3 separate regions of the Homo sapiens genome follow, and regions 2 and 3 are each linked to region 1. Evidence: promoter capture Hi-C in human tissues and cell types (Jung and others, 2019). All regions are on one chromosome and are shown on one strand. Each heading gives the region's core, a stretch centred on a gene start or on the middle of the fragment in contact. The rest is flanking DNA. Distances are from core to core; before and after follow the strand shown. Region 1 holds the start of TMEM229A (transmembrane protein 229A). Region 2 has its middle 37 kb from the start of TMEM229A. Region 3 has its middle 62 kb from the start of TMEM229A.

Region 1 (2,902 bases), core at 158-2,657:
CGGTATAATTCACCCCCGAGGCTCTTTCCAGTTCCAAGACTGATTCAAAATTGGAGAGAATGGTGGAACCAACACACCAACATTCTGAACCCCTTCCACTCTCTCAACCAAGGAAGGAAGGAAGGAAGGAAGGAAGGAAGGAAGGAAGGAAGGAAGGAGATAAAGAGGGAGGAAGGGAGAGAGAGAGGGAGGGAGGGATTGGAGGGGAGGGGAGGGGAGGGGAGGAAGTAGGGAATGAGGGAAGGGAGAAGAGGGGAGAGGTGAAGGGAGGGAGGGAAAAGATAGAAAAAGATAAACCCTGGCCCTTTATGTCACTCTCCATTTCTGGGATGACCTAGTTCTGCCAAAAGAAGAACCCAGCAGCGGGGTGTGCCAGGACGAGGTACTATTCTCCACCTGAGACCCCACAGTAGCTAGAACAAAGCATTTCCTCTTCTCCACACCCCAACCCAACCCAACTGGCCTGAAATCATTTCACAAATTCTGGGGGACATCGAATCTCTGTCCTTGGCCTTGAGTAAACCCAGAAAAGTAGATGGGCCAAGAAATAGATTGGAAAAGTGGATCAGGCCCCGCGGCAGCAATTTAGATGGAGGGTAACGCAGGGGCGGGCAGGCGTGGAGTCTCGAGTTTATTCTCTATGACTGGGACACAGCTGGCTTTGAATAAGAACATTAAGTATACAGCACCATATTTTGGTCTTGAGCCCAGCCTCCAGCCCGTGGCACTCAGCCATTCGTCTCCGCCAGCCAGGCCCTGGCCCTGATTGCCGCGATGCAGGGAATGCCCATCAACTTGCAGTCACACCTGTTAGGTGTTTCTCCACTCAGTGCCTCCGCCCAGCAAGCGCCCCCCGCACGACCGGAGCCCCTGTGTTGAGTGGGCGCACCGGGAGGAAGAAGCAGGGCCGGGCCTTCCCGAGCAGACCCTGTGGGACTCGGTGCGGCGGGCGGGCGCGTGGGGGCGGCCTGAGAAGGCGGGAGAGGTCGAGGCAGGCGGAGAGGGGCATTGGCAGGGCGGGGGCAGGGCCGCCGCTGCTCGCGTTACGTTCCCAGAGCCTGCAGCGGAGGCGCGGGGCTAAGCAGCGGAGGGGATGGGGCTTCCACAAGCTTCTGCATTTCCCCTCACAGCCCCGGCGCCGCCTCCCCTGGCTGGGCCGCGGTGCCCGTTAGGCCGCGCAGGGTGAGAGCTAGAGCGGGCGCGGGCGGGCGGCACCTCGCCCGGGACTGGAAGGGAGGGCGCAGCGGGGCCACGGCGGGGGGATTCCGCTAGCCGGGCGGCCCGCGAGTCCCCTGAGTGCATCAGCCCCCGCTGCCGCGGGACCGCGGCCGGGACGGAGCTCCCTGCGCGCCCCCCGGGGGCCGGCAGCGGCCAGGAGGCGGCGCGGGGCTCGGCCGCTCGGCCCTGCAGCTCCGCGCACCCGGCAGCGGCGGCGGTGCAGCCTCGGGCGTTCGGACAGCCTCCGAGCCCATGGCGGGGAGCGACGTGGACAGCGAGGGCCCCGCACGGAGGGGCGGCGCGGCGCGGCGTCCGGGGGCCCCTGGCGGGCCAGGAAGCGAGGCGGCAGCCGGCTGCCCGGAGCCGCTGTCCACTGCTGAAGCGCCGGCTGAGAGCGCCACGCTGCCCGCCTGGATGCGCCTCTACTTCTACGGGATGCACGGGATCACCCTGGACGTGCTGGTGTCCTCGGCCCGGCGCTTCGCCCGCAGCCCGGACCTGCGGATGCTAGGCTTCTCCTCGCCCTACCGCTGCCTGCTGCACTCGCTCACCCATTTCGCCCTGGAGAAGGTGTACCTGCAGCAGCGGCGCTGTCCCAACGCCTTCGTCTTCAATTTCCTCCTCTACCCCTCGGCCCACGTGGGGCTGCAGACCCTAGCGGGCCAGGCGCTACTACTCAGCCTGGGCGGCGGGGCGGGGGTCGCGGTGGCGCCAGGGGCGCTGGACCTGGCGCTGCAGTACGTGCTGGCGCTCTACCACTGCCAAGTGTTCCTGAAGCGCTTCCTGCGCTTGCGGTACGGGCGACAGAGGCGGCGGCAGCAGCAACAGCAGCAGCAGCAGCAGCAGCAGCAGCGGAGGGGCGCGCTCCCCGTCCCTCCCGGCGCCCGGGTCCCTACTGCGGCCGGAGCCCGGCGGCGACGACCCCGTGGCCCCAGGGGCGCCGGGGGAGCCCCCAGCCAGGGGCTGCCCGACCTACCCCGCTTTCTTTTCTTCGGAATGCACGGCTTTCTGGATGAGATCTTCTTCACCTTCTTCTTCAACGTACTGGGGCAGGGGGACGGGACAACCAGCGGCCACACGTCGCTCTGGTCCTTCTTTATGTACGGCAGCTGCAGTTTCGTGGTGGAAAAGCTCTACTTCCACCTCCACTACAGCCGCGGTTGGGGCACTTGGAAGCGGGTGCCCATCTACGTGATCTTCATCTACGTGTGGGAGCTGTCCTGGGGTCTGGGACTCCGCACGTGCGGGGCTTGTTCCTGGGACTATTCTCACTACCCGCTCAATTTTATGGGCCTCATCACCCTGATGTATTTACCTGGCTGGATATTCCTTAGTGTGTACCAGGACCTAATTTCCAACGTGTTGTGGAGGGTGCAGTACGTACCAGCTAACTAAAACCAAAAAAGAAAGAAAGAAAAGGAAAAAGTCACTGGATTCCCACGAATGGATGCGATTTATTTTTACACATTTAAAATGAAGTGGGTTTTTTAGTCCTTTAATTTTTATACGCTTTACTAAACTCTTCCAAATTGTTTTATTCCACCTTTTAGTTTTTCTATTTGAAACCCGTGTATAATATACTTTGAAACACTACTCGAAACATAATTCAAAGTACTTTATTTGCCAATGTTTTAAAACATTTACAAGCCCAAACGTTTACACGCCCAAACAGCAAAACCGTTAT
Region 2 (2,700 bases), core at 88-2,587, 37 kb before region 1:
TAAAACATGTTCCTAATTTATTTACCCTATTTCTAGCACAATAAATAATAACACTTAATAAACATCTAAATGTTCATCTGAAACAAATACTTAAAAAGCTTAACTAGTCATCTTCATCATAATTTCATCTTGTTCTCATGAAGCAACGTTGGCTCTGAAATACACACAGTCCAGTGCCAAATAATTGAATAGTCTACCTCTCAGAATTCTGAACACCATCATATTATTTTGTTTCATATTTTTATAGATGATTAGGTTAGATCTAAAAAGATGCTCTTGGAGATAGACTAAACCTTGTCTTACTGTATAGAGTAGCCATATATTCCCATTTGTCGAGGACAATCACTGTTTATACCAGTTATTAGAGTGTAATTTTAATAGTGCCTCCACTTCTCTCAAAATGTCCAGATTTAATTGATAAATTATATGGTCACTGTATTAGGTTAATTCAGAGACAGCACAAGAAATTGGAATGGTTTTGCTTTTTCAACCTAAACTCAAGCAACTTTGATGTTTATGAGGAGAGAGTAGAGGGGTCAGAAAAAAGTGGAAAAGGGCAGAAAGGTGGGTACAGAATGTTTGGCGTCTGCTCACAAAAAGCAAAAGCAAGTGCATATTAACGTTAGAAAGACTACTTTATCACCCAGCTTGACTCTTACCCACTTAGAAGCGGTAAACTGTGGCCTATTTTTCAAGAATCAAAATTGGGACACATATTTGTGAGAATTTGGGGAATAAATTCTTGAAGTTATACTCCACATTCATTTTTGTCAGCACCATTTTCCTTATAATATGTCTTTTTCTAATTGAAGGAAATGTGAACATTGAAAGGGAGATTATTACCTAGTTTCAGCTAAGGCTACTTACAGCTTTGAAAATAACCCCTGTACCTTTTGCTGACAATTTTTAATAACAATGACCAAAATACTACTTCTGCTGCTGCCGCTGCTGTGGTAACGATGATGATAATGATAGAAAAGTGAACAGACAACGCCTTCTAGTGATTCAATATGGTGGATAGCCAAATTCACATTTGAGAAAAATACTACAAAGAACATCCAGAGACTTGTGATTTAACTATGCCATCCATTAGTTGGATGAACTTGAACAAACTCAAAGTTAGTTAGAAACAATCTGTAAAACTCTATTTGTAAAATAGGAAGATTGATTTCTGGGAGTGGATCCAGCTCAATCTAGAAATTTCTTGAAGCTTATTTCAAAAAATATATACCAGCAAAAAATACACACATTCTGAGACCCTTGGCAAGATTAGCAGTCAGACTCCTTCACATCCAGCATATCACCTCTAAAATTTCCTCCTGGGTTTTGCTAAAGGCCCCTCCATTACAGAGAAAATTACACTAAAGATGTAATCATTCTCCACACAGGAGCTGCTTGGTTTATTTTTATTCCATTCAATCGTTCCTTTCTTTCCCCTTCATTGCAATTCCAAAGTGAGCCCAAATTCTCTGTTGTATATCATTCTACTAAAGCATAAGGTAGTTATTAAGTGTGATATTTTCTCTTCAGACTCCTTCCTGACCTTTGATCAGTCACCATCTCCAATTTAGATTTTACCTTCCTGAGGCAGAAACCGCATCTACACCGGGATATTCAGTAACATTGTGCCTGTTCTGAAAATGTACCTTCATTTCATTGGTATTCTAGATACATTCCCACATTTTAACTCTTCATGGTGTTATGCAAATTATATTAGTTGAACTAATTTTTTAAATTTAGGTTAAAATAACACATAACACAAAATTTACCATCTTAACCATTTTAAGGTATACATTTCAGTTGTGTTAAGAATATTCACATTGTTGAACAACAGATCTCCAAAACTTTCTCATCTTGCAAAACTGAAATTTTATGCTCATTAAACAACTCCCCATTTTTCCCTCCTCCAAGCCCCTGGTAACCATCATTCTACTTTCTGTTTCTATGAATTTGACTACTTTAGATACCTCACATAAGTAGGTATTTTTGATAACATCTGAACTAAATTTTATTATGTATATAGTTGTAAAAATGACTGTTATTTTATACCTTACTTATAAGGTATAAAATGTATAGTGACAACCCTTTAATCATTTCAAAATGACTTCCTATTCTTAAGCTCTTCTCTATTCAGTGTTTCCTTTGCTGTCACCCTGCTTCTCACACTCCCCACTCTTCCATCACTTTCAATCCTGGCCTCTAAAACCCTGTTTTATTGTAAACAAGCTCTTTATAGCTTCTTGTCTTAACTAAAATTTGACTTTCTTTGGAGGATCTCCCTCTCTCTACAGTCTTCTAATGGAGGCTATTTTTTATCTCATAATTCACATGACCCAAGTTCATGATGGTGGGGTGCAGAAAGAGGTATATTAGTTAACAGTCTTTGGTTGACAATAGAGATCCAAATTCAAATCTAGCTTAAGAAAAAAAGTTTAAAAGTTATTTATGGACTTACACAACTGGAGAGAAGAAAGAGGAATATTCTCAAAGGCACAAACAAATATAAATATGCCTCTAAATTTCAGCTATCACCTACACTTGTTTCTGCTTGAATTAATTTTCTCAAGATTCTTTTGCAGTCTTCTAGGCAATGGGCAATATGGCTGCTGCTAACATCAGAATCACATCATCTTTATCCTCCTCTTGAGGAGTGCATCTACAATGCAAAAGGATTCTAGTTGAAATAGCTTGGGTTACAAA
Region 3 (2,700 bases), core at 186-2,685, 62 kb before region 1:
ACATGATTATCTCAATAGATGCAGAAAAGGCCTTTGACAAAATTCAACAACGCTTCATTGTAAAAACTCTCAATAAATTAGGTATTGATGGGACATTTCTTAAAATAATAAGAGCTATCTATGACAAACCCACAGCCAATATCATACTGAATGGGCAAAAACTGGAAGCATTCCCTTTGAAAACTGGCACAAGACAGGGATGCCCTCTCTCACCACTCCTATTCAACATAGTGTTGGAAGTTCTGGCCAGGGCAATTAGGCAGGAAAAGGAAATAAAGGGTGTTCAATTAGGAAAAGAGGAAGTCAAATTGTCCCTGTTTGCAGACGACATGATTATATATCTAGAAAACCCCATCGTCTAAGCCCAAAATCTCCTTAAGCTGATAAGCAACTTCAGCAAAGTCTCAGGATACAAAATCAATGTACAAAAATCACAAGCATTCTTATACACCAATAACAGACAAACAGCCAAATCTTGAGTGAACTCCCATTCACAATTGCTTCAAAGAGAATAAAATACCTAGGAATCCAACTTACAAGGGATGTGAAGGACCTCTTCAAGGAGAACTACAAACCACTGCTCAAGGAAATAAAAGAGGATACAAACAAATGGAAGAACATTCCATGCTCATGGGTAGGAAGAATCAATATCATGAAAATGGCCATACTGCCCAAGGTAATTTATAGATTCAATGCCATCCCCATCAAGCTACCAATGACTTTCTTCACAGAATTGGAAAAAACTCCTTTAAAGTTCATATGGCACCAAAAAAGAGCCCGCATCGCCAAGTCAATCCTAAGCCAAAAGAACAAAGCTGGAGGGATCACGCTACCTGACTTCAAACTATACTACAAGGCTACAGTAACCAAAACAGCATGGTACTGGTACCAAAACAGAGATATAGATCAGTGGAACAGAACAGAGCCCTCAGAAATAACGCCGCATATCTACAACTATCTGATCTTTGACAAACCTGAGAAAAACAAGCAATGGGGAAAGGATTCCCTATTTAATAAATGGTGCTGGGAAAACTGGCTAGCCATATGGAGAAAGTTGAAACTGGATCCCTTCCTTACACCTTATACAAAAATTAATTCAAGATGGATTAAAGACTTAAACATTAGACCTAAAACCATAAAAACCCTAGAAGAAAACCTAGGCATTACCATTCAGGACATAAGCATGGGCAAGGACTTCATGTCTAAAACACCAAAAGCAATGGCAACAAAAGCCAAAATTGACAAATGGGATCTAATTAAACTAAAGAGCTTCTGCACAGCAAAAGAAACTACCATCAGAGTGAACAGGCAACCTACAGAATGGGAGAAAATTTTCTCAACCTACTCATCTGACAAAGGGCTAATATGCAGAATCTACAATGAACTCAAACAAATTTACAAGAAAAAAACAAACAACCCCATCAAAAAGTGGGCAAAGGATATGAACAGACACTTCTCAAAAGAAGGCATTTATGCAGCCAAAAGACACATGAAAAAATGCTCATCATCACTGGCCATCAGAGAAATGCAAATCAAAACCACAATGAGATACCATCTCACACCAGTTAGAATGGCAATCATTAAAAAGTCAGGAAACAACAGGTGCTGGAGAGGATGTGGAGAAATAGGAACACTTTTACACTGTTGGTGGGACTGTGAACTAGTTCAACCATTGTGGAAGTCAGTGTGGCGATTCCTCAGGGATCTAGAACTAGAAATACCATTTGACCCAGCCATCCCATTACTGGGTATATACCCAAAGGACTATAAATCATGCTGCTATAAAGACACATGCACACGTATGTTTATTGTGGCACTATTCACAATAGCAAAGACTTGGAACCAACCCAAATGTCCAACAATGATAGACTGGATTAAGAAAATGTGGTACATATACACCATGGAATACTATGCAGCCATAAAAAATGATGAGTTCATGTCCTTTGTAGGGACATGGATGAAATTGGAAATCATCATTCTCAGTAAACTATCGCAAGGACAAAAAACCAAACACCACATGTTCTCACTCATAGATGGGAATTGAACAATGAGAACACATGGACACAGGAAGGGGAACATCACACTCTGGGGACTGTTGTGGGGTGAGGGGAGTGGGGAGGGATAGCATTAGGAGATATACCTAATGCTAAATGATGAGTTAATGGGTGCAACACACCAGCATGGCACATGTATACATATGTAACTAACCTGCACATTGTGCACATGTACCCTATAACTTAAAGTATAATAATAATAATAATAATAAACAAAAAAGAAACAGAAATTTAGGGCCCATAATCATACAGGAGGTTGAGGAGCTAGGTTGTTACTCATTTTTTTTTTAGTTGTTTCCTACTAAGTGAGGCATTGTCCCTGCCAAGCCTGGGCCCTAGAGTTTTTTTTCTGTCTTGTCTAATGGGGTGTAAGCCATGTTGTCTGTGGGACTGGTGGGCAAGATGTGAGATGTTCTATTAGTAGTCAAAGGTTGGAAGCTTTGGAAAACCATCATGTGGACTTGGAATTGTGAGTGAGAGAGTAATAAAGTAGTTAGCATTTCAAACAAAGTTGGACCAAAAATTAAAGCTAAAAGTATGGTAATAATTGACACTACTAAAGGGAGCAGGGCAGACAACAGCTATTGTTTTTAAGTCTATGGAAGTTTTTAAAGATTTAATTTTGTCTGCTTGGATAATGATATTT

What was found. Contacts are between HindIII fragments. The study calls those that stand out against the background at their distance.
Region 2: a fragment that was not itself captured here is called in contact with the fragment with the promoter of TMEM229A in region 1 in 3 of the 25 tissues and cell types used here (dorsolateral prefrontal cortex, hippocampus and thymus).
Region 3: a fragment that was not itself captured here is called in contact with the fragment with the promoter of TMEM229A in region 1 in 4 of the 25 tissues and cell types used here (bladder, dorsolateral prefrontal cortex, hippocampus and 1 more).

Annotation. Positions count from the first base shown.
Region 1 is chr7:124,031,572-124,034,473 of GRCh38, reverse strand. TMEM229A (transmembrane protein 229A) reads left to right here and starts at 1,407. Exons shown (of 1, transcript NM_001136002.2): 1 at 1,407-2,902. The coding sequence starts at 1,471. The coding sequence ends at 2,613. The HindIII fragment of the contact is 14,772 bases long and covers 1-2,902 here.
Region 2 is chr7:124,068,720-124,071,419 of GRCh38, reverse strand. No RefSeq gene overlaps it. Among named protein-coding and RNA genes, the nearest start is that of TMEM229A, 37 kb to the right of the region's middle. The HindIII fragment of the contact is 3,265 bases long and covers 1-2,700 here.
Region 3 is chr7:124,093,651-124,096,350 of GRCh38, reverse strand. No RefSeq gene overlaps it. Among named protein-coding and RNA genes, the nearest start is that of TMEM229A, 62 kb to the right of the region's middle. The HindIII fragment of the contact is 4,980 bases long and covers 1-2,700 here.